Regions from separate parts of the Homo sapiens genome. Here regions 2, 3, 4 and 5 are each linked to region 1. Evidence: promoter capture Hi-C in 16 types of primary human blood cells and fetal thymus (Javierre and others, 2016). All regions are on one chromosome and are shown on one strand. Each heading gives the region's core, a stretch centred on a gene start or on the middle of the fragment in contact. The rest is flanking DNA. Distances are from core to core; before and after follow the strand shown. Region 1 holds the start of TMBIM4 (transmembrane BAX inhibitor motif containing 4). Region 2 holds the start of KICS2 (KICSTOR subunit 2). Region 3 holds the start of GNS (glucosamine (N-acetyl)-6-sulfatase). Region 4 has its middle 28 kb from the start of TBC1D30. Region 5 overlaps CAND1 (cullin associated and neddylation dissociated 1).

The links. The method cuts DNA at HindIII sites, captures the fragments that hold promoters and counts their contacts. A CHiCAGO score of 5 or more calls a contact.
Region 2: the fragment with the promoter of KICS2 here is called in contact with the fragment with the promoter of TMBIM4 in region 1 in 2 of 17 cell types (activated CD4 T cells and total CD4 T cells); the score reaches 6.2 in activated CD4 T cells.
Region 3: a contact is called between the fragment with the promoter of GNS here and the fragment with the promoter of TMBIM4 in region 1, in 4 of 17 cell types (non-activated CD4 T cells, M0 macrophages, naive CD8 T cells and 1 more). The highest score is 6.3, in non-activated CD4 T cells.
Region 4: a contact is called between a fragment that was not itself captured here and the fragment with the promoter of TMBIM4 in region 1, in 1 of 17 cell types (monocytes). The highest score is 5.4, in monocytes.
Region 5: a contact is called between a fragment that was not itself captured here and the fragment with the promoter of TMBIM4 in region 1, in 1 of 17 cell types (fetal thymus). The highest score is 6.8, in fetal thymus.

The regions. Positions count from the first base shown.
Region 1 is chr12:66,167,675-66,173,480 of GRCh38, forward strand. TMBIM4 (transmembrane BAX inhibitor motif containing 4) reads right to left here and starts at 2,322. Exons shown (of 7, transcript NM_016056.4): 1 at 2,181-2,322. The coding sequence starts at 2,277. RefSeq lists enhancers at 1,474-1,573, 2,056-2,580, 2,224-2,303 and a silencer at 5,302-5,502. The HindIII fragment of the contact is 2,376 bases long and covers 1,622-3,997 here.
Region 2 is chr12:64,218,834-64,224,639 of GRCh38, forward strand. KICS2 (KICSTOR subunit 2) reads right to left here and starts at 3,463. Exons shown (of 3, transcript NM_152440.5): 1 at 3,170-3,463. The coding sequence starts at 3,404. It overlaps LOC124902952 (a long non-coding RNA gene), which reads left to right and starts at 3,516. Exons shown (of 2, transcript XR_007063347.1): 1 at 3,516-3,710. RefSeq lists enhancers at 2,987-3,106, 3,177-3,236, 3,271-3,865, 3,347-3,436, 3,587-3,776 and 1 more. The HindIII fragment of the contact is 7,597 bases long and covers 1-5,806 here.
Region 3 is chr12:64,757,265-64,763,070 of GRCh38, forward strand. GNS (glucosamine (N-acetyl)-6-sulfatase) reads right to left here and starts at 2,142. Exons shown (of 14, transcript NM_002076.4): 1 at 1,821-2,142. The coding sequence starts at 2,012. LOC124903113 (small nucleolar RNA U13) reads right to left here and starts at 3,709; the gene lies at 3,604-3,709. It also overlaps a transcript of TBC1D30 not described here. RefSeq lists an enhancer at 688-1,568. The HindIII fragment of the contact is 13,978 bases long and covers 1-3,753 here.
Region 4 is chr12:64,793,913-64,799,718 of GRCh38, forward strand. It overlaps a transcript of TBC1D30 not described here. Among named protein-coding and RNA genes, the nearest start is that of TBC1D30, 28 kb to the right of the region's middle. The HindIII fragment of the contact is 627 bases long and covers 2,534-3,160 here.
Region 5 is chr12:67,270,411-67,276,216 of GRCh38, forward strand. All of the region lies in intron 1 of CAND1 (cullin associated and neddylation dissociated 1), which reads left to right. Among named protein-coding and RNA genes, the nearest start is that of CAND1, 4.0 kb to the left of the region's middle. The HindIII fragment of the contact is 1,853 bases long and covers 1,130-2,982 here.

The DNA of each region.
Region 1 (5,806 bases), core at 1,072-3,571:
TAGCCCCTATCAAAAACAGTATGGCCGTTCCTTAAATAATTAAAAATAGAACTACCACACAATCCAGCAATTCCACTTCTGGGTATATATTCAAAAGAATTAAAGCACGGTCTTGAAGAGGTATGTGCACACCTATATTCATGACAGCACTATTCAAAGTAGTCAAGAGGTAGAAGCAACACAAATGTCCATCAATGGATGAATAAACAAAATTTGGTATATACATACAAAGTACTACTACTGTCTTAAAAAGGAAATTCTGCAGCCAGGTGCAGTGGCTCATGCCTGTAATCCCAGGACTTTGGGAGGCTGAGGTGGGAGGATCGCTTGAGTCCAGGAGTTCAAGATCGGATGGGGCAACATGGAGAAACCCGTCTCTACCAAAAGTACAAAAAAATTAGCCAGGCCTGGTGACCTGCATTTGTAATCCCAACTACTCGAGAGGCTGAGGCGGGAGGATCACCTGAGCCCAGAAGGTAGAGGCTGCAGTGAGCAGTGATCTCACCACTGCACTCCAGCCTCGGTGGCAAAGCGAGACCCTGTCTCAAAAAAAAAAAAAAAGGAAATTCTGACATATGCCACAACATGGATGTATTTGAAGACATTATGCTAATTGAAAAAAGCCAACCACAAAAAAACAAATACTGATTGTATCTAGAGTAGCCAAATTCACAGAGAGAGAAAGTGAAATGGTGGTTCCAGGGACTGGGGGAAGGAAGGAATGGGGAGTTAATAGGTATAGAGTTTCAGTTTTGCAAGATTAAAAAGTTCTGGATATTGGATGGTATATAAGTTTAGTCTAAAGCTATGCCTTTAGATATTTTAAGTTCAGCCTAGGGGTTCTCGGTATATAGTGAACTATAACCTAGTAAACAGGCTGTAACCTACGCTTGAACCAATCACTGAGTTTCAGCCAAAGATGGCCACGTGTTCAAACCATGTTCAAACGGGCAAAAACCAAGCTGTAACCAATCAACTCTTTCTGTACCTCACTTCTATTTTCTGTACCTCACTTTACTTTCTCTCTCCATAAATTTTCTCCCACCAAGCGGCAGGACTCATCACTCTGAACCTTATTCTGGTTCCGGGACCTGCCCAATTCGCAAATCATTCTGTGCTCAAACTCCGTTAGATTTAATGTGTCTAAAGTTTTTCTTTTAACAGTGCACAACCATGTGAATAACTTAACACTACTGAACTATACACTTAAAAATAGTTAAGACGGTAAATTTTATGTTACCTGTATTTTACCACAATTAATTTTTTTTAAAAAAAAGCTGAGTTCACTGGCCAAAATAATTTCAAAATTCAATTCCAAAAATATAAATGCTAGGCACCAAGATTCTTGGTGCATCAGAACTATCTTCATCTTTCCTTTTCCAGAACAAGTTCTAGGCACTAAGATTCTTAGCACATCAGAACTATCTTCATCTTTCCTTTTCCAGAACAAGTTCCAGCTGCCTAAACAGGCTGAAAGTCTGGGGCTGTTTCGGCGATCAAATGACCAAACTAGAGCAGGCAATGGCTTCCACGTAGATGAAGCTGAGCATTTTAAATTCAAAAATTTCTGCCCATTGGCTACTACGTAATAACTTAAAACACAATTTAGACTGACTTAGGAAGCTTCTGTGTTGAGCAACTTCCTCAATAATCCTCAAAGACCTGTTGCATTCTGGGCCCTGCGGAGAGGAAATAGTGCCGTCAGGGAGCTTCCAGCCTAGCACAGGACGGTAAATATAAGCCTGTAACGCGAAACCCCACAGAACAAAAACATCAGGCCGTGGATTCCACTCGTGTGTACGTCAGTCACAGTGATCAACCGACTCATTTCCACGACGTTTCTTTTCACTTCAAGATGCCAAATTCAGGCTGCGGCGGTTTCCATCTGTCCCTTCCTACACCGCGGCGCCCGCTGGGGAGCCGGGGCGCACACAGGACAGCCGCAAGCCTTCTGGGCCTGGCGCCCTCCCACACCCGCTAGGAGGGGAGGAAGCGCCTCCCCGACTCCCTGAGGAGGGCGCCAGTCCTCTGGTACCCGGAGAAGGAGGGCCGGGAGCTCAGTGAGCACTCCCTGTGAGTCCCAGGAGATGGCCGCTCTCCCTCGGAAGCCGGAAGTCGGCTTCTAGAGGCCGAGCAGTGCAGACAAGCGGCTGGGAGGCACTGGAGAGGGGACAACGTACCCATTCGGATGTGCACGGTGGCGGAGGCCACGCTGCTGCCATAGTTGAAGTCGTCCTCGATCGAGGAGCGAGGGTACCGGGGGTCGGGGTCAGCCATGATGGCAACAGCACCCCTACCGGTCCCGGTCCACTAACCGCAACCGCCTCCTCCCCACTTCCGCGAGGAAGAGCCCAGCCCCAGCAAGCCGTGCGGCGTCGGCGGGCGAACACCGAGCGAGTCGATTTTCTCGCTTCAAAAATTCCAGCTGGGCGGAGAAAGCGGGGATGGCTCCGAGTTAGAATGGAAGAGAAAACGGTTTACATTCCCGGCGTCATCTGAAGTGAAACTTTTCTCAACACACTTTTTTTTTTTTTTTTGAGATGGAGTTTCACTCTTGTTGCCCAGGCTGGAGTGCAATGGCACGATCTCGGCTCACCGCAACCTCCGCCTCCCGGGTTCAAGCGGTTCTCCTGCCTCAGCCTCCCGAATAGCTGAGATTACAGGCGCCTGCCACCACGCCAGGCTAATTTTTTTATATTTTTAGCAGAGACGAGGTTTCACCATGTTAGCCAGGATGGTCTCGATCTGCTGACCTCGTGATCCGCCCGCCTCGGCCTCCCAAAGTGCTGAGATTACAGGCGTGAGCCACCGCGCCCAGCCTGAACACACTTTAAGTCCTTTCACCTTGGAGAGTTGCTAAAGTGATAGAACCCATGTCCCAGTCACCCATCCACTCAACAAATACCCATCTCATTCATCCACTTTTTCAATAATCACACCGAGGATGCATTTTTACTTCTATTATTTTAAAATAATAATAATACCTACATTTATTGAGCACTTTCTATAAACCAGGCTTTCTGAATGAAGTAATATTTAATCCTGAAAGGCAAGTAGGAGCCAACCAGAGAAAGAGCAGTGATGTAGGCTGGGCCTCAAGGGACCAACGTCTGCAAAGAGGGAGACGGTGAAGCTCAGCTGGTGTAGGGGACAGGTGGCAAAGAATGAGGCTGGATAGATAAACAAAGGCCAGATCATCCTAGGCCAGAAGTAGAATACATTGAAGAGGGCCATTACCAAAGGCAGAGAAAAGGGGATAAAGTTGTATTACTGTAAGAGAGAGATGATGGTGGCAAATACAATGGATTAGAGTGAATATTCATGATATTGTTGTCATTCCAATATAAAGAGGTGTAGACATACCCAGAGTAGTGTCATCCTAGGGTCCCTTGGAATTGTTTTGATGAGTTTACTCTGATCTACCCACATTGCCCAGTCCTCACCTTAACCACAACACCCGAACACTTAGCAAGTGGAATTCAGAACAGTTGTGGAACAGTCTATTCTAAACTAAATCCTTAAACTTGATGTTCTCAGAAGCCTTTGCCAAAAGAACTAACGTCACTTCCACAATGACAAGAAAAACAAAACAAAACAAAAAAACACTTTATCTTTTATGATTTTACAAACATTTTACAAGCATATCATTTTAATTTGTTTTTGTTGGTTTGTTTTGAGATAGAGTCTCAGTCTGTCACCCAGGCTGGAGTGCGGTGGCTCTATCTCGGCTCACAGCAGCCTTGACCTCCTGAGGTCAGGTGACCACCCCCGGGTAATTTTTTGTATTTTTTGTAGTGACGGAATTTCGCCATGTTGCCCATGCTGGTCTCGAACTTGGGCTCAAGTGATCCCCCTACCTCGACCTCCCAAAGTGCTGAGATCACAGGCGTTAGCCACTGTGTCCGGCCCCTCGTTTTAGTTTAGTTTGTTGAATGGATAGGTGAATGGGATATGGCCTCTATCTCTTTAGTCACTCTCCAGGTGAGAGGACTTAAAAAGCTTGCTGAGAAAAATCTGAGAAAAGTTTTACTTCAGATGACACTGGGAATGTAATCCGTTTTCTCTCCCATCCTAACCCGAAGCCATCCCCTCTTTCTCTGCCCCGCCGTAATAATGGAATTTATTATAGAGGACAAACTGGAGCTAAATTGGGAACCCACCTTTGTATTGACTAAAAACAGCATCAGCAAAGTTTGATCCTTTACCTCTTACCAGTTACAAAAAAAAATAAATTCCAGATAGATTGTGGATATAAATGTGAAAGGCAAAAACAATAAAACTTAAAGAAAATGATACAGGAGAATATGATTTGGAGGAAGGCAAAGATTTCTGAAACCAGATACAAAATAGCACTTAACTTCAAATGAAAAGATTGCCAAATTAAATTATATTAAAATTAGGAATTTCTAGTAATCAAAATATACCATAAGAGAGTGAAAAGGAAGCCATAGAGTAGGGGAAGATATCTGCTATACATATAACCTACCTAAGGCTCCTTTTCAGAATATAAAAACAATTGTTACAAATCCAGACCAAAAAAAGACAGTCAATAGAAAAATAGACAAAAGACTGGAGGCGGGCGCAGTGGCTCATGCCTGTAATCCCAGCACTTTGGGAAGCTGAGGCGGGTGGATCACCTGAGGTCAGGAGTTCGAGACCAGCCTCAACGTGGAGAAATCCCGTCTCTACTAAAAATACAAAATTAGCCAGGCATGGTGGTACATGCCTGTAATCCCAGCTACTCGGGAGGCTGAGGCAGGAGAATTGCTTGAGCCTGGGAGGTGGAGGTTGTGGTGAACCAAGATCGCGCCATTGCACTCTGGCTTGGGCAACAAGAGCGAAACTCCACCTCAAAAACAAAAAAAAAGAAGGAAAAAAGACTGAAACAGGAACCTAACACACACACACACACACAGCCAAGTGGCTAATATATGAAAAGTTGATCAGAGAAATGTAAATAAATGCCAAAATTAGATATCTCTAAGCACCCACCAAATGATTAAAATTAAGAGATTGATAATATCAAGTGTTGGCAAAACTGGATTATCTAGAACTCAAATAAGAGCTGACTTAAAAGGTGTGCAACCTATGCTATTGCACAGAGCCCTGGACTCCGAAGGACTCTGCACTTGGTTTAATGCTCAGCTGTCACCATTTTGAAATACTTAGTAATTTTGCCTTTGAACATGTGTTTTGTAAGTGAAGTCTGAAAGTACAATGGAACATGAACATGAATAGAAGAGGTATGCACAATGTGGATGTCCACTGTTTCCTGCCAATCATTTGCATTTAAGCATTTAGCATGCCCCATGAGCTCAGAATTCTGTTAGACCTGCAATGTTTGGGAGTTAAGCTAGACTCAAAGCTAGTAAAAGATAAGCATGTCACACTTGTGACTTAGTAAAGGGAAGAGAAGAGAAGGCACAGACAGCCCCAAGAGGCCTAGCTTTCCTTACCGAGGAGAACTTACTTTGAATGCAGAAGGAAAGCAATGACGTTTTAAGAAACATGAATGACCAAGGAATCTTTTCACATCCTTTTTTTTTTCTTAATAGGGTCTTGTTCTGTTGCCCAGGTTGGAGGGCAGTGGTGCAATCATAGCTCTCTGCAAACTCCTGGGCTTAAGGGCTCACCCCATCTTAGCATCCTTAGTAGCTAAGACTACAAATGCATGCCACCATGCCCAACTAATTTTTTTTTTCCGAGATGGAGTTTCCCTCTTGTCCAAACTAGAGTGCAATGGCGCAGGTCTCAGCTCACTGCAACCTCCGCCTCCCGGGTTCAAGCAATTCTCCTGCCTCAGCCT
Region 2 (5,806 bases), core at 2,213-4,712, 1.9 Mb before region 1:
GTAAAGTGAAACTACTCTAAGGAAGAGATAGACCATCAACACATTTCTTTCAAACAGTTCTCTTTTCTCAAAGCTCTCAGGAACCCAATCCTATCTGTTCACTATCTTGGTTTGGAATATCCAGCGGGGACTGACCTTTCTTCATGCTGGAAAACAAGGAATCAGAAACATCCAACTTCTTTCTCTTTTCAATATTTTTAATTTAAAAAATATGATTACTTTGAATGATTTTTAGAAGGCTCTAGTTATAAATGCTCATAATTTCTCAAGATTTCAAGTTCATCTCATGTCATGAAATTTTAAGTGTATTGAAGGAACGTGTAAAACATCTTGGGCATTTTATTCTCCAACTTCTTGCTAATAATACTTTTTAAACATCAGTTCTCAAGTTAAGTCATTTTCTACTATGCTAAATTTCAGCAACCCAAGGTTGAGGAAACTCTCCAGTAATGAAACAAAGGGAAGAAAAGTATGACCTTCTAAAATTCTCCACAGGCATTGAGTCAGCATATTTTAATCACTGATCCTTCCCCAAACAGGTATTATTCTCTCTTAAAGGAAAGAGAAGGAACCAAGATAAGGGCCCTACTCGAAGTTTTTCAGTAACAGGGTCAAGACAGGAAAAGAAAGCTCCCTGTCAAGGTCTATCCTTTGTCTAAAGGCCCTGCTTGCTTCTTTAATCAGGATTCACTGCTAAGGCCTCAAATAAATACCATCCATAAGAGAGGTAAAAAAAGACTCCCTTTTTACTTGAAATTTGCTAAGAGAGTAGATCTTAAGTATTCTCACAATATACACATGAAAGAAAGAAGGAAGGAAGGAAGATAACTATGTAAGGTGATGGATATACTAAGTAGCTTGATTGTGGTGATTATTTCACAATTTACATATACATCAAAACATCAAGTTGTACATCTTAAATATATATAGTTTTATTTGTCAATTATATCTCAGTAAGGCTAAAAAAACTTTTCAGAATTGTTTTAAATTTTTTAAACGCACGCATAAACTTTTTGTTTTGCTTTCTAAAGAAAACTATATAAATGTTCTAATGAGCAAAGTAGTTGGAGAACATGGGAATGTTTTAAATGGCAACACGAAAGTTTTCTCCTGAAGTTTTTAAGAAAATAGTAAACCGGGTAATTGTGTAGTCGTATTGTAAGCACACTGATATCATATACACTCCAGTACCCAAAAAAATGTGCAAAGATAAAATTTAAATTCTGGAACTTATGTTTACTGTACGTGTAAATAAGTTATGAAGCATTAAATATACCATTTTCAGAATATTTACTCAGAAATGAGGAGCCCACCTAGGAACGTAACAGTGCCTGGGCATGTTTCACAGCACCAAATGTTGTATAGGTCAGTTTCAAGGCATAGTCCTCATGCTCACCCATGCCAGCTGGGGTTCAAGCAGAACTAATCAATTTACACATTGAGGACCACTTTACAGAACCCAAGTCAGAGACAGTGAAGATCTTATACACACATTCTTACACACAGGGCAGCCAGTTCTGTTTACGTAAAAACCTGGCTCATTCAACTTAAAACTAGAGTAGCAGATTTTTTTAAATGGAGTCAATAAATAGACTTTAGAAAATTCAACTGAACCCACTCAGGTTATACGCAAAATTATATGTACATATATATTTTTCTGGAGAGTAAGTACACAGCTTTCATCAAATTTCCATGGATAAGTTAATAAAAAAAAAAAGCAAAGAATCATGGCACTTGAATCAGTCACCATTCTTTGAGGTGGGGGAGTCTAAAAACAACTGAAACTGCCTAAATATTACCTACCTTCAGTATTACAGCTAGAATCCACCCCATTTTCACATATATAAAAAACATATATCTGTATATATTATACATAAATTATAATTTTCATACACATTTTTAATAAGTTATATGAATGCAAACTCAATCTGAGAGTACAAGGGCAGATATTTTGGTTTCGACTCTATCATCTACCCAACATAACTGCATATATAATTTGCTAATCTATAGAAAGGGGAATAATAACACCATAGCAGCAACTGCAAATTTGTGAGAAATGCCATTGTAAAAAGGGGAGGAAAAAAATAAGGTGAAACTATCTGACCAGTTTTTGCTAATAAATTAGCATACTAAATAAGTATGTATAAATCAACATACTTGCTACAGCAATTACGAACTCAGGAAGCCCTGTCTCTTGAGTGTTTACTGAAAGCTCAATAAGATGTACATGGTCACCTTCAGGCAATATAAGGAAAGTAGGGGGCTGGTTAGGGAACGGGGGGGGGTGGATCAAAATGAAATCTACACCAATTTTACATTTCTATTCTCTGTATTTTATATACGTGTCCTTCATTCACATCAGACCTCACGCTTCTGAAAATTGAAGAGTCTAAAACAGGTCAAAGTACTGACTCTGAAACCCCTAGGATTCAAATATATTTATTTGTCATAATTAAGCAGTAATATTATTTTGTATGCATATTCCATGCCTTTTACATCTATTATTTCCTTCTCATCTACTTATACTTATTGCTTCTACTAGTAAAAATCAGTTGAATCAGCTCTTGAATCTTATTTCAGAGGCAAGATGTACATGAAGTGCTAAGAGTGTTTACCATTTTCCCCTTAAGTCTCTTCTTGCTAGTGTTAGGCATATTTCTTGCCTTTCCTGCCCAATATTCATTTATTACTTTAGTCATTAAATATGTATTGGGGGACTATGAAGACGGGGTAGGACTCTAAATGTGACTCTCGGGCCTTAACCTTAAGAGGCCACACAACAGTGTTCAGTAATAGAACTAGGTTGTTTTGCAAAGTTTTGCTCTTCTGGCTGCAGCGTCACTAATTAAAACAATGAAGACATAGTTTGGTTAACTTCTCATTTATGGCATCAATCCATGCACGAGGCAAAAGGGCAAACCCTTCGGTTTGGGTCACAGCCCTGCAAAGAGCATCTACCCAGTTCGCCAATCTATCAGCAGCGCAGGCCGGTGGGCGGGGCTTGTGGAAGCCCAGGGAAGGAAAGGAACGGTGGGAGGAGATCTGGGAATGCCGAGTCGAGCCTGCGACTAGAAGTGACACAGAGACGGGAAACCCAAGCCACTGCCGACTGGGGAATATACCCCCTTTACTTCCTCCTCAAGGGGCTCGGGGGGCGGGGCGGAGGTACCTAGTTTCTGCCCCAGGTAGGTGAGGCTGTGATAGACCTTCTCGGCCGCGGCCAGGTGCGCCAAGGCCGCCAGCAGCGACAGCCAGCTGCCCCCCGCGCTCTTGTTGGCCTCTCGTTCCTTCTCCACATTGTCCTTAGCCTTGTCGTAAGAGAAGATACCCAGGTGAGAGAAGAACGTCTCCAGCACCGCCTGTTCCACCGGGACCGGGGCGGCCAGCGGGATAGACTCCCCCATGCGAGCTGCGCCCCAGCTCGACCCACGTGGCTCTCCTCGGCCTCGCACTTCCGGGTTCTGAGGGAACGGGCTTGCGCACAAGCGTGCGTGCGCGTGACCGCCTCCACCGGCGGACTCGTGAGCGCGCCGCTGCCGGGACCGCTCCTGGGCCTTAGAGAAGACGCGGATAAGGGCCAAGGAAAGAGGGAGGTAGCGGTTGCTGAGCTCCTTCGGCGCTTCGGCTCCTGTAGCTCTGACTATTCGGACCGTCAAGGTAGAATAGGAGGCGGCCAGTTCCCCGCTCTAAGAAGTTGCCTGCGCTCTGAGGTGAGCTGACAGGCCCCTCTCTGTGTGGTTCGTCAGCGCTGGTGACGTCATGCAAACGTGACGTCAGCCCTGGCCAGAACATCTGGCCTGGGCTCTCCAGGCACCTCGCTGGGCCGGCTGGGAGATGGGGAAGTGCCTGGAGTTGTGCCCACACTCACAGCAGGGACCCTAGTCAGCCCTGACACCTTCTACACCAACTCATGGAAGTGATTTGCTGAGATTAGAAGACTGACGGGTAAAGGTTGATCTCCTTCCCATTGCCTAGTTTTCATCACATCACACACCACCGGTTAACTCTCACCTGTATCCCGTTCTAGTTCTCCCGGGTCTGTGTTAGCCCTGCAACTAATAAGTAGAGCCCCTGGCCCAAACTGCATTAACCTTCCTTAAAAAGTTATCTTTTTTTTTTCTTTTTTTTTGAGACGGAGTCTCGCTCTGTCGCCCAGACTGGAGTGCAGTGGTGAGATCTCGGCCCACTGCAGCCTCCACCTCCCGAGTTCAAACGATTTTCCTGCCTCAACCTCCCTAGTAGCTGGGATTACAGGCCAGCGCCACCACACCTGGCTAATTTTCGTATTTTTAATAGAAACAGGGTTTCACCATGTTAGCCAGGCTGGTCTCAAACTCCTGGCTCAAGCAATCTTCCCACCTCAGCCTCCCAAAGTTTTGGGATTACAGGTGTGAGCCACCACCCCTGGCCAGAATGAAGAATACATTAATGTAAATTGTGCACGTTGTCATTTAGAATAATTACAAGTTCCTTTGGCATTTAAGAAACCCCATGAACCCGGCTCATACTTGTATGTCCACTACTTTGAAACACTACCCACTACTCAATAGTTTTTTCCTTTCTTCTTTGTGCATACTTATTTTATGCTTCTTAGTCACACTATTTAATCGCATATATTTACATATCTCTTTCCCCAAGTGGTGAGATCCCTAGGGTACAGTAGGGTTCACTTACAGTTATAATCTTTTCATATTGGACGGCGCAGCCATGTTTGTTGAACAAATGAGAGAATTGCCTATTTTCGTTTTTTCTCAAACTAGAGCTGTTCTGCCATCATCACTACCTTTTAAAGGAAATCCCACTAATCTAATTTTAATGAATAGGTATTGTGCACCTGTTCCCTATACTCAAGAATGTAATTGGATAAGATCAACCCTGTTAACAATGATACAAGGCAGTTTTTTTTTTTTTTGGTTGTTTTATTTTGTTTTGTTTTTGGACAGGGTCTCACTCTTTCCCCCAGGCTGGAGTTTTCCCCAGGCTGGAGTGCAGTGGCATGACCTCGGCTCACCGCAACCTCCGCTTTCCAGGCTTTAGTGATTCTCCTGCCTCAGCCTCTGGAGTAGCTGGGATTACAGGCCAGTGCCACCACACCTGGCTAATTTTCGTATTTTTAACAGAATTGGGGTTTACACCATGTTGGCCAGGCTGGTCTTAAAATCCTGACTTCAAATGGTCTGCCCGCCTCGGACTCCCAAAGTGCTGGGATTACAGGCATGAGCCACTGCGCCCAGCTTCAAGGAAGATTTTTTTTTTTTTTTTTTTTTTGAGACAGAGTTTTGGTCTTGTTGCCCAGGCTGGAGTGCAGTGGAGCCATCTCAGCTCACTGCAACCTCCACCTGCCGGATTCAAGTGATTTTCCTGCCTAAGGCCAGCCTCCAGAGTAGCTAGGATTACAGGCATGTGCCACCACGCCCTGCTAATTTTGTATTTTTAGCAGAGACGGGGTTTCTGCATGTTGGTCAGGCAGGTCTGGAACTCCCGACCTCAGGTGATCCTCCCGCCTCAGCCTCCCAAAGTACTGGGATTGCAGGCGTGAGCCACCGCGCCTGGCCAAGGCAGATTTTTAAACATGACAAAGGTGAAAGACAGAGAGTGAAGGGAGCAATCATACCATTTTGGAAGAATTAAGGAGGCTTCCTGGAGGAGAGTGTGATGATTCTTGATGAATAAATAGAGGTAATCAAAAAAAAGTGTGGTACTATCACCAAAACCAATAGACAATAAAAGAGATTATAAAACTCATAAACATACCCACATAATATAAGAATTCCTTAGGTAATGAAGGTGACATTATAAATTAGTG
Region 3 (5,806 bases), core at 892-3,391, 1.4 Mb before region 1:
TAAGAATTGAAGAAACAACTCTGAATACCTTATATTTAAGTAATCAATTTTGTTTTCAACACCTAAAAAAGCCTGACCTTTTAACTGAGTACTTAAGTCACTGCTAGAGAAGGCTTGCTTTTTCTGGACAAAACACTCTTCAAGGACACATTTTCTTTTTTTTAATAAAAAAGGAATTTTGTGAGCAGACAAGTAAGTGCAGTAGTTGGAAGAGTAGTGAACCTAAAGTGTAGGAGGAAAATTAAATTAAGACCAATGTCAACATGGCTTGGTAGAAACTAACAGACAATGAAGCATATATGGCAGGAAGAAATGTGTAGTCAAAATGCAAGCCTCTTAAAACATCAGCTATAAAAGACTCTCAAGCTCTTGAGCATCAACCTAAGAAATATATTTTACAACTCGGGAAGAAAGAGAGATAGATAATGATTACCTTTATCAAGTGTAACACACACACTCACACACATGGACCTTTTCTATTCTATTCTATTCCAGAGGAAATAAAAAATGTTGGTAGTTACTCACTAAACTGATTTCATAACTCACTCAAGGGTTGGGACCAGAGGTTTGAAGGACACTGAGCTAGGGTGTGTAACTACACAAGAAAAGTTAGGAACGTCTTGCCTGGAGTATTTCATAGTCTCAGCATTCAGCTGAAAGCAAAAAGAGAACTGAAACGAAGAAAGCAATAAAGCATTTGGTTTTAAAGCGAAGAGAGGAATGCTGAACCCAGGGTCAGAGGACTCTGCCTCAACTACTCATGTCTTGGGCAAGTTGCTTTCTGGGCCTCCATGGGGAAGGGGTTGGAGTGGATGTTTCCAAAGGTCACACATTCCATAATTCTGCAATACACAAGCAAAATTTACTCTGGAAAAAAAATGAAGTCTTGTGACAACACCCATTAGATAGAAAATGAAACACTGACAGTCTCTAATGCAACAGTCAGGTGTTCAATCACACTAATTGAATTTTCTTGATTCTTGTGAGGCAACACACACCCTCAATAGTTCGACGGTCGGCCTACCAGATTAGTTCACTTCAGGCCTTTTTTTTTTTTTTTTTTTTTTTTTTTTTTTGGAGACGGAGTCTCGCTCTGTCGCCAGGCTGGAATGCAGTGGCGCGATCTCGGCTCACTGCAACTGCTGCCTCCCGGGTTCAAGCGATTCTCCTTCCTCAGCCTCCCAAGTAGCTGGGACTACAGCTGCGCGCCACCACGCCCAGCTAGAATTATTGTATTTCTAGTAGAGACGGGGTTTCACCATGTTGGCCAGGATGGTCTCGATCTCTTGACCTTCTGATCCGCCCGCCTCGGCCTCCCAAAGTGCTGGGATTACATGAGTGACACACCGCGCCCGGCCCAGGCTTATTTTTATTGACATCAGATACAGACATTGTATACAGGCACAAACGTGGAGGTGGTCTAGGTCCCTCATAAAGGGGACTGGACTTGTCTGTGATCCTCTAATCCAAAAGAAAAACAATCAGGCCTTGAGTGCTCTTAGACAGCACCTGATCCTCATTGGTTCAACCCATCCTCCACTGGTCTCCACATGTTTATCTTGAGATATTAACGTAAACTCCACAGCAGTACGGTCCAGACTAGAAGCTCTGTGTGCTGTACGCATGTGCCTCAATCCAGAAAGGAAAAGAGTATTGCAGTCCCTTACACCGGCATAAAGGGCCTCAGGTGGGAAAACCAAACCTACCCAAGGATAAGACAGCCAGTTCGGGGAGGAGGGTGGTGGGGACCGGGAAAGAGAGCAACAAACCGGGTAGTCAGCCCAAGAGATAGAGGGGCGGGGCAGAAACAGAAGAGTTACCATGCCGCCGAGCACTTCGTCCTGGTCGTCCGTGAGGAGCAGCACCACGTTGGGCCTCCGGGTTCCCGCAGCCACCCCGAAGACCCCCAGGCAGCCGCCCAGCACCAGCAGTAGCAGCGCTGGGCTGCAGGAGGGCAGGTGGCGGGGGCTGCCCCGCCGGAGCCGACCTGGGGCTAGAGGCAGGAGCCGCATAGCGGACAGGCTCCGGGGTGACCCCGGGACGGGACGGGACGGAGGGACGCACAGGTAGCTGAAGGGCGAGAGGCCGACCAGCCGAAGGAATAAAAAGCCGTGCCTTGAAGGCCGGTGGCTGGAGTCAGACGTTTTCTCCCTAGGCGCGATCACGTGAGCCAGGGACAGGGGGCGGAGCACGCTGCGCGGTCACGTGACGGCCGGCGTGGGCGGGGCTGCGGACTGGCGCAGCCTGGAGGGAGGCATCAGGCAGTGGCGGAAAAGGGGCGGAGAACCGGAGAAAAGGGCGGAGAACCGGAGAAAAGGGCGGAGAACCGGAGAAAAGGGCGGAGAACCGGGAAAAGGGCGGAGAACCGGGAAAAGGTCAAGACCTGTACGTACCTCTCGCGCAGGCTCGGGTTGCGTTCTGGTAGGACGTACGTGTTTCTGAGCGCTTGGTGGAAAGATTTAAATGGGGGGAAGAGAAGATGAAAAGCAGGAAAGAGTTGGCAAATACTAACCAACCGATAAAGGAAGAGAAAGGAGGACTGTACATAACAGAAATTATCATCAGCTGGTGAGGAAAGTGGACTCTACCATATTTAATCCCCAAGTCGACGGGCACTTATTCAAGGCCCGGATGTTTAATCGTTTTTAATTTTCTCTACAACTTGTGAGATAAATCTTAACATTCTCATTTGGCTCAGACATTAAATTCGGAACTGGTTAGCTCTCTTAACTCCAAAGCCTAATTATGTTCTTCTTTCCTCAGCAGACATCGTAGTTTCAAACAATTTAGGGATGTCCTGACAGCTTTATCCTAATGGTTATCCTAATGGTCCTTGGTGACTTTTTAAACACCCTCTTGGAACATGTTGGAGGATGTGCAGATCGAACAAAAATCTTGAAACGTGGTCATCCAACTGCATTATTAAGTAATCTTTAGCGGGGAATAGCCCTTGAAACTAGCTCCAGATATTTCTGTGGTCGCTCTGGAATAATTAGACTTTGCCCCTCTCCTCTCACCGCCCACCGTGGGCGCGGTGGCTCACGCTTGTAATCCCAGCACTTTGGGAGGCGGGTGGATCACCTGAGGTCAGGAGTTTTAGACCAGCCTGGCCAACGTGGGGAAACCCCGTCTCTACTAAAATACAAAAATTAGCTGGGCGTGGTGGCAGGCGCCTGTAATCCCAGCTACTCGGGAGGCTGAGGCATGAGAATCGCTTGAACCCGGGAGGCGGAGCTTGCAGTGAGCCACTGCACTCTGGCCTCAGGGACAGAGCGAGACTCTTGTCTCAAAACAAACAAACAAACAAAAAATCACAGAGATATTCCTGGCAAGGTGAACTGTCAAGTCACATCCCCAGACCGATATAACAAGGTATACCTCCTTGCTGGTAAAAGTATTTTCTCTGAGTTGAACTGTTTGCCAAGAAGAGTCTCTTAAAACTCGTGAAAACTATTCCAGAACTTAAAGTATTAAAAAAAAAAACTCGTGAAAACACTATACTATAAGGTAAAAATAATGATGGAAACACGTTGAAACCTGATGTGTACAAGGATAGGGCTTATGCAAAAAAAAAAAAATTACCTTTATTACTTTGTTTTTTTCACACAGAGGGGTAATGCGCGGAGTCCTAACAAGGTTTGAGGTAGGGGTGGTAACTCACACAATAGCATGAAAACCCAATCATCAGGCTTATGAACCACAAAAGGATCTTAATACTTTTTTTTTTTAAGTAAGCCTACAGAAGGCAAAAGAAGCTTTAAAAAAACTGAAGTAGTTTTTCTGCAAGAAACAATTATGCCGGAAGTGTGGTCAGAGCAGTTCCTAGACAACCAGAATACTTGGTTACAGCCTTGGCCTAGGCCAATTTTTCAAGCTGGTTAGAATAACTAATCCTTCTGTATTCAGGTTTCAAGACTTCCAGGAAGACTTTCTTGCACAAAAAAATAACCTATTTCATCTGTATCGAAGCCCCAAATTGTAAAATTGTTTCTTTTCTATTTTTTTCAAGGTTAGATTATAAACTATTTGAGGCCAGAAATTGTGTAATTAGTTGCCCACTTTGTTCAGGATGCTGCTGTCAGAGGCGATTGAACCAGAGCAACTCCATCTTGAAAAGGGGCTGAGTAAAATAAGCCTGAGGCCTGCTATGCTGCATTCCCAGATGGTTATGCATTCTAAGTCACAGGATGAGATAGGAGGTCATAAAGATACAAGATACAAGATGCATGTCATAAAGACCTTACTGATGAAACAGGTAGCAGTAAAGAAGCCGACTAAAACCCACCAAAACCAAGATGGTGATGAAAGTGACCTCTGGTCGTCCTCACTGCTAAATTCCCACCCAGCGCCATGACAGTTTACAAACGCCATGGGAATGTCAGGAAGGTACCCTCTCTGGTCTAAAAAGGGGAGGCATGAATAATCCATCCCTTGTTTAGCATATCATCAAGAAATAACCATAAAAATGGGCAACGAGTAGCCCTCGGGCTGCTCTGCCTATGGAGTAGCCATTCTTTTATTCCTCTACTTTCTTAATAAACTTTCTTTCACTTTACTCTATGGTCTTGTCCTGAATTCTTCCTTGCTCGAGATCCAAGAACCCTTTCTTGATGTCTGGATCAGGACCCCTTTCCGGTAACACTGCTACACTAGTGCTGAAGAGACATTGTCCCTCGTTCATGGAATTTGCAGTCTAATGGCAGAGAGATGGACAATCTAATCTTGTATCTTGTATATGATTACAAATAGACATGCTATGAAGGAAAAGTAAAGGGTGCAATGAGCATTTAAGGTGGTGGGAGGCTGATTTAGTCTAAGGTGCCCTGAGGAAGTGATCTTTGAGTGAAATCTGAAGTTTGAGTAGGAGATAATTTGTTAATGGAGTATTGGGGTGGTGGAATGTCTCCTAAGCACAGAGTACAGCATATGCAAAGGTTCTGAGCTGGTGCATTGCAATAACTAAAAGAAGCCAGTGTGGTTAGAGCAGAGGGAGAGAGGTGGTGAGGACCCAGATCCTATTTTAAGGACTTGGGTTTTTATAGTAAGGCTAATTGGAAATTACTGAAAGAATGTAAGATAAATATAATCATACATGAACTTTTAGAAGATCCTTTAGACTGTGGCATGAAGAACAGATTGGAAGAGGACAAGCATGGGTGAGGGTAGACCAATTAGGTAGAGAGAAAAGTGGATAACAGGGACAGATTCAAATTTTGTGGGGCCTGAAGTTTATGTGCATTTGGCGAGTGGAGGCTCCTTAAGAAAAAGAATAACAATTTTAGATACAAAAGTAGGTACACAACTGAATATGTATTTAGACTAAAACAAAATATAACGTTATAAATTTTTAAAAGTTGAAAAATATTACAAATAATGCAAAAATTTAACGTAACATATTTTTATTAAGTAACTGCCAGGCATACTTCTTCATACTTTTTTCCCCTTACATTATATGGCTATGTGCTCTTTAATCATCTCTTCATATGATGTTAGTTTATAATATTTTCTAAAGAAAATAGAAAGATAATTTAGTTTTTTCTCTAGTGTGTTTGATCAGTATTTGCCTTTTATTGGTGATAATTCAGAAAAATTATTTTTCACCTCAGTTCATTATTGGTTTTATATATATGTTTAGTATTTTTGTCAAATTTCAGAAAACTCTATCAAATATCCTCTTAACATAGGCATTTCGTGACATTCTGCATTTTATTTTGTATTATTTTATTTTTTGAGATGGAGTCTTGATCTGTCTGCGCTCTTGGCTCACTGCAACCTCCACGTCCCAGGTTCAAGCAATTCTCCTGCC
Region 4 (5,806 bases), core at 1,597-4,096, 1.4 Mb before region 1:
TATCCTGGATCTTATATTTCTTTCTTGATTATTCTTTTTATTTTGTTTCCCATATCCCCTTGAGAGAGAGTGCTTGTGAAGTAAGTTTTTGGTAACTGTGCACGGGTGAAAATGTCAAATGTCTTGATTCTAAATATATGCGCTTTGATCGACTATTCTATACTTGCTGTATTGCCTTCTCACTTGTCTTGTTGCTCTTGAGAAGGCTGAAGCCTTTCTGATGCCTGACACTTTATCCTGGACTGTTTATTTTTTTTCCCTTTAAGAGCTTGTGGACTGTTCTCCTTGTTCTTGGTGTTCCTGAAATACAACAATCATGTTGCTTGGAGTGGGTCTGTTTTCACTCAGGTCATTGTCACTGGGCCTAGACAGGCTCTTTCAATCAGGCAACTTTTGTCATTCAGTTCTGGAAATTTTCTCTGAATTATTTCTTTGTTGATTTTTCTCCCTCCTTTTTCTTTTTTCTTTTTCCTCTTTCTGGGGTTCTATTGTTTGGCTGTTGGAACTTATAGACAAGTTCTGTAATGTTCTTTCTTTTTTTTTTGAGACAGGGTCTCGTCTGTTGCCCATGTTGGAGTGCAGTGGTGCAATCGTGGCTCACTGCAGCCTTGACCTCCTGGGGCTCAGGTGATCCTCCCATGTCAGCTTCCTGAGTAGCTGGGAGGTGCACACTACCACATCTGGCTAATTTTTGTATTTTTTGTAGAGATGGGGTTTCAACCACATTGCCCAGGCTGATCTCAAACTCCTGGGCTCAATCAAGTGATCCCCCTATCTCGGCCTCCCAAAGTGCCAGGATTACAGGTGTGAGCCACTGCACCTGGCTGTAACGTTTTCTCTCTTTCTCGCTTTCCAACTCCTTGTTCTTTTGATTTATTTCCTTGGAGATTACCTCAACTTTATTTTCCAGTCCTGTTATTGAGAAATCTTTTTGGGTTGCTATTTGAATGTTTCTTTTATATGGTATCCTGTTCTTGTTTCATAGATGCAATATATTTTCTTATTGCTCTAAAGATATTATGATAGAGACTAAAACAGACAAAAGAAAACAATTTGGAAGAGATAAGATTATACAGGGAGGAAAGAAACTTTCAAAACTGTATTATATTTAGAAGCTTTCCTTAGATGTCTGGTATTCTTTGGCTGTCTGCTCATAAGTAAGTGTGGGAGTCTAAATGCTGACTTGAACTCTGGGCTCCCTGGCAGGGCTTATTGACTTTGAGCTTCATTGAAGTGCCATGTGGATGGGCCCTTTGTTGTGGAACCCCTCAGGTCAGTATCTTCAAGTCTTTCATCTGGGCTGGTCAGATTCTTCAAGGAAGAGTCTTCTGATCTCCTGCTCGAAGGGTGAAGGTCTGGCTGCTGGTATTTTGGGAGCCGAGTGGGGTGAAGAGAGCTGGGAGTCTCTGCATTCAGTATGCATATGGCCACTGAGTCCCTGTTTTAGGTAAGGTACTCACCCTCAGCTGGTTGTCCAAGGACTCTGTTATCACTCTCTTCAAAAATAAGACTCTTAAACTTTTGCAGGGGTGGGAAAGTGGTAATTGCCCAACCTTATGAAGAGAGGAACGAGGGATCCAACTACTTCTCAACAGCCTTCTCCCCATATTTCTTGTCAAGCCTCCTGGGGAACTGGTTGCCAATCCCCAAGTCTCTTGTGGACTGTGTAGTATAACATAAGTTGGATTTCAGCTTTCCTGTTAGTTTGGGATTTGGCTTTCTAGGATCCTCTGTCAATTTATGTTTGTTTGCTTTTCCAGCTTCAAAAATTCATTGCTGTTCTCCACGCTCCTTTTTTTTTTTTTTTGTCCTTCACTCTGGTCCTTGCGGGTTATGATTTAAAAATTATCTTTACAATATTTTTAGTGTGGTTTTGGTGGGGACCAAAGTTAGATGCTTTTTTTTTTCAATCTTCCGTCTTACCCAGATGTGCTTTTTCCTTTTTCATAAACTCATTTCTTTTGAGAGACAAAAATAAGTTATCATTTAGATTAGGGTAGATTTGCCTTAAATTTGGAATTTGCCTGCAAAATTGTGAATTTAATTACAAATTTGTTAATATTGATAACCGTTTTAGGTATGTTTTTGATATATAATTAGCAGCCTGGTCTACCCTGAAATAACTTAGAATATGACTAGATGAAAGAAACTGATTGAGCTTGCATACAGCATATTTTAGCAACAGTTTCTCCTCATTTTCTTTAAGCTCTTTAGCATCTTAAAGTTAAGAGTTTTTTTTTTTTTTTCATTTTGTCATAATTTACTTGTGTTTCTTATGACCTCGTTATAAAGGGGTTGATTTGTAGGAAAACTGAATCTTAGTCACGGTAATTGGGAGCTACTAGAAATTTTTAAAAAATGATCTCCATTTACCCACAACCTTTGGTTGAGCAAAGGGAAACTTGGAAAAGTTGAACTTTGCTGAAACTCACTCAGCTGGTTAGTGACTCAGGAGTTTTTTGTTTGTTTTCTCTTGTCAGTTATGGCAAGAGAAAACTATATATACAGCCAGCAGGGGGAGCTCCTTCCCTTAAGCTTACGTGAGAGAAGTATTATACTATTTATGTTCTCTGTATTGCCACAAGGGTAAGACAGCCTTTAAGACTAAAAATGATACAACATCAGATAGACACCATATGAAAGAAATAAAGGGAACTTTTGTTGGAACTACCATGTATATGTATTGTGACCATTTTTGTGTTTAGTTATATTATGAGAGAATACTTCTAGAAGTGGGGATATTTTGCAATTTATAGTTTAAAAAGAGGCATTTACATTAAACCATTTTTTAGAGACTATATCTTTCAAAAGCGTTATTCATTTAACAGATATTCTGTGTTTACTATTTCCCACACATGATTGTAGGTGCTGGGAATATGGTAACAAGCAATATATCAAGATTAAGACCTCACGATTTGAAGTTCTTTTATACGAAGTGTAAATACAAGCCTAAAAGAAATACTTTTTCCCCCAAAAGAATTGACTCTTTAATTTGGTAGGACAATCAACTGCATTTTTCCTATGTCAACAGCAAAATATAAGATGATAATATGACTTATACTGAATGCTTACTTTTAGGAATTTCACATATATCTTCAAGTATCATTCTCCTCTGCAAAAAAAAAAAAAAAAAAAAAAAAAGACTATTCCAGTGTTCTTAAGCTTTGCTGCATATTGGAATCACTTGAAAAATTTAAAAAGGCTATTAATGCCTGGCTCCCCAGCCCAGACATTCTGCTTTTACTGGCATGGAGTGTGATCTAAACATTGTGATTTTTAAGCTCCCTGGGCTATTCTAATGTGCAGAAAAGTTTGGGAACTGTTGGACTGTTTCCTAATAGTGACAGCTTCCTGAAGACAAGCTCCTTTGAATCTCTTTTCTTCCTGTTGTGTCACCTTGCACAACATATTTGACCTAGCAGTGATCAATAAACATCCAGTGCTTGGTTTCTTACTAACTCTGCTTAGAGTTTATGGTCATCAGCATAATGACTCACTTGTGTACATATTTAACTTATTTATTCCACTCTTTGTCATTTTCACCTTGCAAAACCCCAAGCCTGATTAAACTCAAGTCTCTGCACATTCTGTCTCTGCATCTACCTAGCTAACTGCAGCTGCAGAAACACATATCATGGGGACGACTCTCTTTAAATATGTGACCACCAGCCTCACAGACACCCTTGGTACAACCAGCAATCCTATGATATTTCTTTAGTCTGTTCATACTCTCTCTCTCTTTCCCTTTTTACATCCTATTTTCTCCCCTCGCTCTCAGCTGGTGATTTTTGCTGTGTATTTTAACAGAGAAAATGTAAGCAATCAAAAGCGAATGTCCTCATACTCCCACCTGTATAGGTGGCATTCCTCTGAACCTCGAGATGAACTGTTCAGCTCTTCTGGGGTACCCTGGATCCATCTTGTCTTCCCTACTCAAGGAATCATCCTTCTTCTTGTCTCTCTTCCTTCATCAGGTTTTCCATCTCTGCTGGATGATTTCAACCAGTATAGAAGCATGTCATTTTATCCTTAATCTGAAACCAAACATTAAAGTCATCTCTACACCTCTCTTCAGCCATCATTCTGGTTTTCTGTGCCTCTGCTTTTTCATCTGTAAAATGGACAATAGTATTGGCCCTACTTACCTCTTAGAACTATGTTTTGAAGACAGAATTGAAAGTACTTTGAAATGTTAAATGTGTACATGTATATATGTAATTGTTTATAAATTCAAAAGTTCTGTGTTGAGTACCTGCTGGGTGCTAACATGCAAAGAAGAAGAAAAATATACAGTATCCTCAGTGAGCTTTCAGAAGAATAAAGTCAGAGAAGCAAATAAAAAATTACAGTATAATAGTTCTAATGGAGGTTGTGGTATATTGAAATAGATTTTTTGACAACTGCCATTTTTACACATCATGTGCTGACATTTTGAAGTATTCTGAATCCATCTTTCCAATATAATCAGCTAACAAATGGTGGTTTTCACTGTACCAGGTTTCAGCTTGACATTCCAATGAGTCTTACACTGTTTCAGGATAGAATTATGTATTTTTATGAAATTGGAGGAAAATGCTTAGGAGAAGGTGTTGCTGACATAGGAGAATTTCAGGCAAGTCAAGGCTGATTTGATATTCTCAAGACAAGGACTCGTTTGAGTGGTATTAGACTACCTGAAAGACCTCCTATTGTAAAATTTAAAAACCTTGACGTTTGCTCAATTATGCAACAGAGTTATTCTGGGGATGAGTGGTAGAAAGATGGAATGGGAGCTCAGAGTGTTCTCTGTGTATGCAGATCCTCTTCTCTTCTTGGTTCTCTTTCCTTGGGACCACTTCTTCAGGGTACAGACTGGGCCTCAGCATCTGCCAGGCTGGTCTGGCTTCAGGCACCTTTTTTTTTTTTTTTTTTTTTTGTTGAGACGGAGTCTCGCTCTGTCACCCAGGCTAGAGTACAGTGGCACGATCTTGGCTCACTGCAAGCTCCGCCTCCCTGGTTCACGCCACTCTCCTGGCTCAGCCTCCCGAGTAGCTGGGACTACAGGCACCCACCACCATGCCCAGCTAATTTTTTGTATTTTTTAGTAGAGACGGGGTTTCACCTTGTTAGCCAGGATGGTCTTGACCTCTTGACCTCGTGACCTGCCCGCCTCGGCCTCCCAAAGTGCTGGGATCAGGCACCTTTCTTAAGAGCAGGGATGGAGAAAGGTGAGAGAAGCCTGGGCTTCTGACGATGTGCCTCTGGAGAGCTGATGGGATGGGAGGGGGGCACATTGGTTGAGAACATGGACTCTGGAGCCATGTCCCCTGGGCTCAGATCCCAGTTTTGCCACTTACTAGTTCTACAGTCTCATGCAAGTTCCCCGACCCCTCTGTGTTTCAGTTTTCTCATCAGTAAAATGGGAATGATGGTACTTTCACTTCATAGGATGGTTATGTGAATTAAGTGAGTTAAAGTATGTAAAATGTTTAGAAAACTGTCTGGCTGTAGTATTTACTACTACTGCAATAATTCCCACTGTGGGAGGTTCAGAGGTTGCCTTTGCCATCAGCATTTGCATCCTAGCCTGTGTAAGGCAATTATGAAGGTTGCTGGGCTTTTCACTTATAAAAGAAATTGATGAGATGGGTTATTTGAGGAGCAGGTGTTGAATAATCACTGTTAGGGATAATATAATTTTTTAACTCTTCGGGAAAGGATTGCTTCCTCTTCTCCAATAACATGCAAGAAGAGTGCTCTTCCTCTGTGTGTTTCCATTGAGAATGTGATACGTAAATGTGTCTTGGGGATACATGTTATATCTGAT
Region 5 (5,806 bases), core at 806-3,305, 1.1 Mb after region 1:
CCCGCCAGCATCACTGTCAGTTCCTCTTGTCAGGTAAAACCAACTTAGGAACTCGGGGTTTCAGTCTCATGTCCTCATATCCAAAATCACTGCCAAAGGGGTGGATTGCTGGATCTTAATCATAGCAGACGGATCTTCAAAAGGAAGAGATGTTTAATACGGACCTGGTGAATATGAAGCTTTATTACAGCAGTTCTGTTCAGGAGATCGGTACTGTTGGTTCCAAAGTGTTGTAATATGCATAGTGAAGATTTGTTATATTTTTACAGGTTATCTTTGTTTTTATTTTTCCTTGCACGCTTCGGTGATTGTTGCATTCTTTCCCGCCTCCCATCTCTTCACAAATAAGTTCTCAATCTAAAAAAAAAAAAAAAAAGAAAAAAAAATCGCTTATTTCCTTATACCTGTTTTGTTCTCTAATGCTTAGTGGTTGTAATTTGGGTGCATTTTAAAGGAAATAACAAATAGTCTTCAACTAAAATTGTGACTAAAGAGCTTGTTTGTTTTGTATGAACAATATGTTTTAACACTTGAAAATGTGTCCAAACCGTGTGGACTGGGAAGAACTTTTCGGATTTGTGAAAGGAGAACCATGAAAAAGTAGTAATTGTGTTCCTGATTAAATTGATATACTGGCTTATTAAAATAATCAATGACCACAAAACCACGTATTACTTTAAAAAATATTTCTACCTAGGCAGCTCTTAAATGTATTTAAAACTTAAAAATCATTTCGCTAATGGTAAAAATTTTAGTATTGTAACTTTTTGGAGGTGACATGTTTGTTTTGTGTGTTTTAGATTTGTGTAGTTCTAGGGCCAAAATTAAGATTCTTGGGGGAAATAAAGGTTTTGTGTTGTTTTACGGATTGGAATGCCGTTTGATTTTTGGGGCTTTGCTTGCTTCCAATTCAAGTAATGGATGAGGTGTGTGGCGTGATTTCCTCCCCATTGCTGTCAGTTTGGCTCATCCTGTAAAGGTGGTAAATTTCATTCTGATTGTGGTCAATTTCAGTCTGAAGGTAGCACTTTATAATAATACAATTTTGTTCAACTAGTCATTCTCCTGTATAAGTTTAGAAAGGCTAAAGAAATTATGTGGTGATACCATACATGTGATTATTGACTGAAGCTTGCTTTCTTAAATTTCCTGTGAAAGAAAGATAACATGTACATACCTAGTTGTTTTTTTCTTAAATAAATTACATGAAAGAAATAGTGCTCTGATACTAAATGACAGTCACTGCTGAATTTGGTAAAGATTATGTATGAATTTTGGTTGTACTGAATCAAAACAATTCCTGGAGGATTAGTGTAATATTGATATATTCCTAATAGTTGGTGAATGCTAAACAAGGTATATTTAGGAGCAGTACGTGATTTCCAGTAATTTGGCATCATTAAGATATTTTTATCAACTGTCTTCTAAAAAACATTTTTATAATGCGCTGTAGCCATCTAGTTAATAAACAAGTCTTTGGAACTAAAGCACTTTATATGTTTAGTTTAAACAGACATTTAATAATTAATTAGTGAGCGTTTGGAGTCAAGAATTTTGAAATTTTTTCTGCATATTTTTAGTATAGGCATTTATTTTAATTTGCTCTTTTTTAAAAAAATGATGCCTTGTTCTCATTAGAAGTTTATTTATTTTGGCTTAAATACCAAGATTTGTGGCTACATATTTTAAAAATACCTAGCACTAGAAGGATCTTGAGGGCAAGGTTAACATTATGGAATGACCAACATGTGCAAAGCACTCTGCCTGTACTAAGGACGAGAGAAGAAACAAATGCTGCCAAAATGAAGAGCAAATTTTATTATCCTCATGGTAGAATCCAAAGAGAATTTGACCTAGTCACAAGATCTGGGTTCTAATCATGTGTGATTCTTTGTTATGAACTGTAAGATCTTATGCAAGCTATTTAATTTGAGATTACATTTTCACTTCTGAGAGGCATGGACATGACTAATTACAAAAGGTTGTTATAGGCATAAAATTTCAGGTCTATTTATATAATTACATAGTTCATTAATACAGAGAAGGTAAAGAAATGAATGCAGGCTTAAAAATTTGGAAATTTCTGCATTTTAAAAGAATCTTTTTGTAGGACTATTAAGGCTCAATTTATTGAAAAATTGTAATATTTCTTTTGTGTTTTAGTATTGTGCATTATTTAAAAATGAGATATTAAGACTTAGGAGAAATGGGGAAGCATTAGGATGAGAAATGCTGAGATTAGGAACTCTGCCATATGCAGGGTTTTTGTTGTTGTTGTTGTTTTGGTTTTTTTTGTTTGTTTTTTTGAGATGGAGTCTTTTCTGTCGCCAGGCTGTAGTGCAGGGGCGCCATCTCAGCTCACTTCAACCTCCGCCTCCCAGGTTCAAGCAACTCCCTTGCCTCAGCCTCCCAAGTAGCTGGGATTACAGGCACACACCACCACGCCTGGCTAATTTTTTGTATTTTAGTCAAGACGGGGTTTCACCATGTTCGCCAGCATGGTCTCGATCTTCTAACCTCGTGATCCACCCGCCTGGGCCTCCCAGAGTGCTGGGATTACAGGCCAGCACCGCATCCACCCATGCAGGGTTTTTTGTTTGTTTGTTTTAAAAAAAGGAGACTAGGAGCTCTTTTATTAAAAAAAGGAGGAGGCATTTGTGTGTCTTAATTACTAGGATAGTGCCTGTTACTTACTAGCCTCGGTTTAGTGAAAAGTTATTAATGAATGCCAATTCAAATAAAACCTTCAGAAGAAAAATGAAGAAACATTCCTTGGGACAGTACCTTAGAACAGTGCTTCTCATCACTTCCTCCCTAAAAGAAACACTTCTGGAGTGTACTGAGACTTTTTGCCAGAAAACATTTGTACCAGTGTATATAGTTATTTTAAGGACCTCTAGGGATGCATGTTCCATAAAGGAATAAAGAGTAAACCTTATAATGTAGCCAATAGATAGGGGATTCGGTTGATACCAGAGTGAAAGCTTTAATGTGGATGAACCATGTGACACTCCATTTGTGAATATTAATATTGAATATTTGGTAGGTTGAGGTAACTAAGTTCTTTTCTTTTTTTTTTTTTTTTTTAGAGATAGGGTCTCGCTCTGTCACCCACGCTGGAGTGCAGTGGCACCACCTCAACTCACTGCAGCTTCAACCTCCTGGGCTCAAGCGATTTTCTTCCCACCTCAGCCCCCAGAGTAGCTGGGACTACAGGTGCGCACCACCACACTCAGCTAATTTTTTTTATAGAGATGGGTATCACCATGTTTCCCAGGCTGGTCTCAAACTCTTGATTTCCGGCAATCTGCCCACCTTGGCCTCCCAAAGTGCTGGGATTACAGGCTTGAGCCACTGTGCCCAGCCACTTCTTTTATTTTCATATTCTTCAACCACCAGTTGATTTAAAATATTCCAAGGAATCAAGAGCTAAAGAAAATATCATTATCTTTCTATATATAATAGTTAATATTAATGCTTACTGTGAGCTTGATTTTTGTTTATCCTTACAACTTTAGTAAAAGAGGATAATAATAATCTCGTTTACAGTTGAAGAAACTGAGATTTGGAGAGATTAAGTACTTGTTTAAGGTCAGTTAGATAGTAGGTCTGGGACTTATAGGATCTCTTTACCCCCAGAACATGAACTCTTGACCACCCAGCTATGTCACTTCTCCAGGGTTTAGACTAGTGGATGTTAAGATTCAGGCCTTAAATTTCATTTCCCTCTAAAATTAGGCTTATAGAATATTTCATGCTAGAAGATGCTTTTAATAATTCCTGAGGACTACAAAAAGTTTAAGATCTGGTGCTTACTTTCCCTAAATCTACATGCTTGTTGAATAGTTAAGACACTATTGTAAAAAGATGAATAACCCAGGGCAATATGTAATTGTCAGGCATTAAGTGGCAGAGAATATTAAAGCAAGAAGATTCATGTCCATGGAGAGATTTGAGCCAGGTGTTGAAAATGAAACTCTAGATAGAAAGTGAAAATGTAAAGCACACGATACAAAACTTCACTGGGGAAGAGGGAATAGATAACCTGACTGTAGCTGGATGGATATTGTCCACAGAACTCCTTAAGAATAGGGACCTTGTCTTACTAAACGGAATCGTTCTCTTTGTCTGGCTCTGGGCCATGTGGGTTCTCAGTAGGTGCTTGTTTAAGTAGAATTGGGTTTTATTTCCATTATATAGGGATTTTAGGAACCTCCAGAAAACCATTGTAAAATCAACTAAACTGTTTGTTTAAATACCACTTGATAGAATCTTCTTAAAATAATTCACCCCATTTTGGAATGCAAGTTTTTCCCAATTTGATAAAGGTTTATATTACCAGATTTATTTATTTAAGTGTTTTGGATATTGGACGGTATTTTCTTTTGGAAACTGTTTAAAATGCTTGTAAAAAAAACTCAAGCCTTTTAAGGAATCAGGTTTTCAGAGCTGGAAGGAACCTTAGAGATCCTATCATATAGCTGAAAGTACAGTGTGGGTGGGCATTTACAATAACATAACAGGAAATAGTGAAATTATCTTAAGTACTTGTGCTTGGAGAAAAGCAGGTTTAATCAGAAGAAATAGATTTGCAGAGATTAAGAAGGTGATTTCTGGGCACTTTTAAAAATACTTAGAAGGTTGATGGCAGTAACTTTCTTGATTTTACTTTGATGTTTTTTTCTTGATATATACTATGCTAACTGGTTATCAGCAGTGATTAGGGCTCACCACTGAGAAAGAGGAGGAAGGGACCTCACAGAGAAAACTGGGAAGAAAGATTAGTAAAAATTAGATTTCTTTACATGAACAATATTAAGACTATTCCAATTTAGGTCTTGTGTGGTGGCTCACGACTGTAATTCCAGCACTTTGGGAGGCCAAGGCAGGCAGATCATCTGAGGTCAGGAGTTCATGACCAGCCTGGACAACATGGTGAAACCCCATCTCTACTAAAAATACAAAAATTAGCCGGGCATGGTGGTGCATACCTGTAATCCCAGCTACTCGCGAGGCTGAGGCAGCAGAATTGCTTGAACCTGCGAGGCAGAGGTTGCGTGAGCAGAGATTGCACCACTGCACTGTGGCCTGGGTGACAGAGGGAGACTGTCTCAAAAAGAAAAAAAAAAAAACTGTTCCAACTTAATTCATAGCACTCTAAGGAATAACTGAGGAAAAGTGAAATAGCAGTGGTGTATGTGCAGGATCTCTGAAAGGTAATTGGTGTACTGAGTGATAAAATTGACCATATCAACTAGATTTCTGGTTGGAAGCAAGAGTAAAATTGTGTTTATGTATGATGGGAGAGGCTGTGGTGAGAGTTATTGTGAGTGCAAGGTATCTATCGATCTAGTGCATACCTAGTGTAAGTTCCAGACTGTGTTACTCATCACTGTGTTTGCAGAGTAGAGTTCCTTATGTTGGTGCCCTCAAAATACTTGTTGAATAAAGGAATGAGATGGCACTGCCTACAGGTCATATCAACCTGGGAATTCCATTGAAGTCTGAAACGTAAACATTTATCTTTTTCTTTTCCCGTCTTAATGCCTTCTTTATCCTTATTTTGGCCTGTTAAATTACCATCCACTGAAAGTCACAAGCAGAAAATCTTTGATATCACCCTTCTCCCGTCTGTCTTCTTTAGTCTCCTGATGAGTATTTCTCAAATTAATCTTGCTGTCTCAGGCCTCTTCCTAACCCAGTTTGTTCCCTCTGGCCATTAGAATTTTCTTCCTATATACTGCAGCTGATCATTGCCTCCCTCACTAATTTCCATTGACTACAAGATAAACTCCAGATTTCTTAG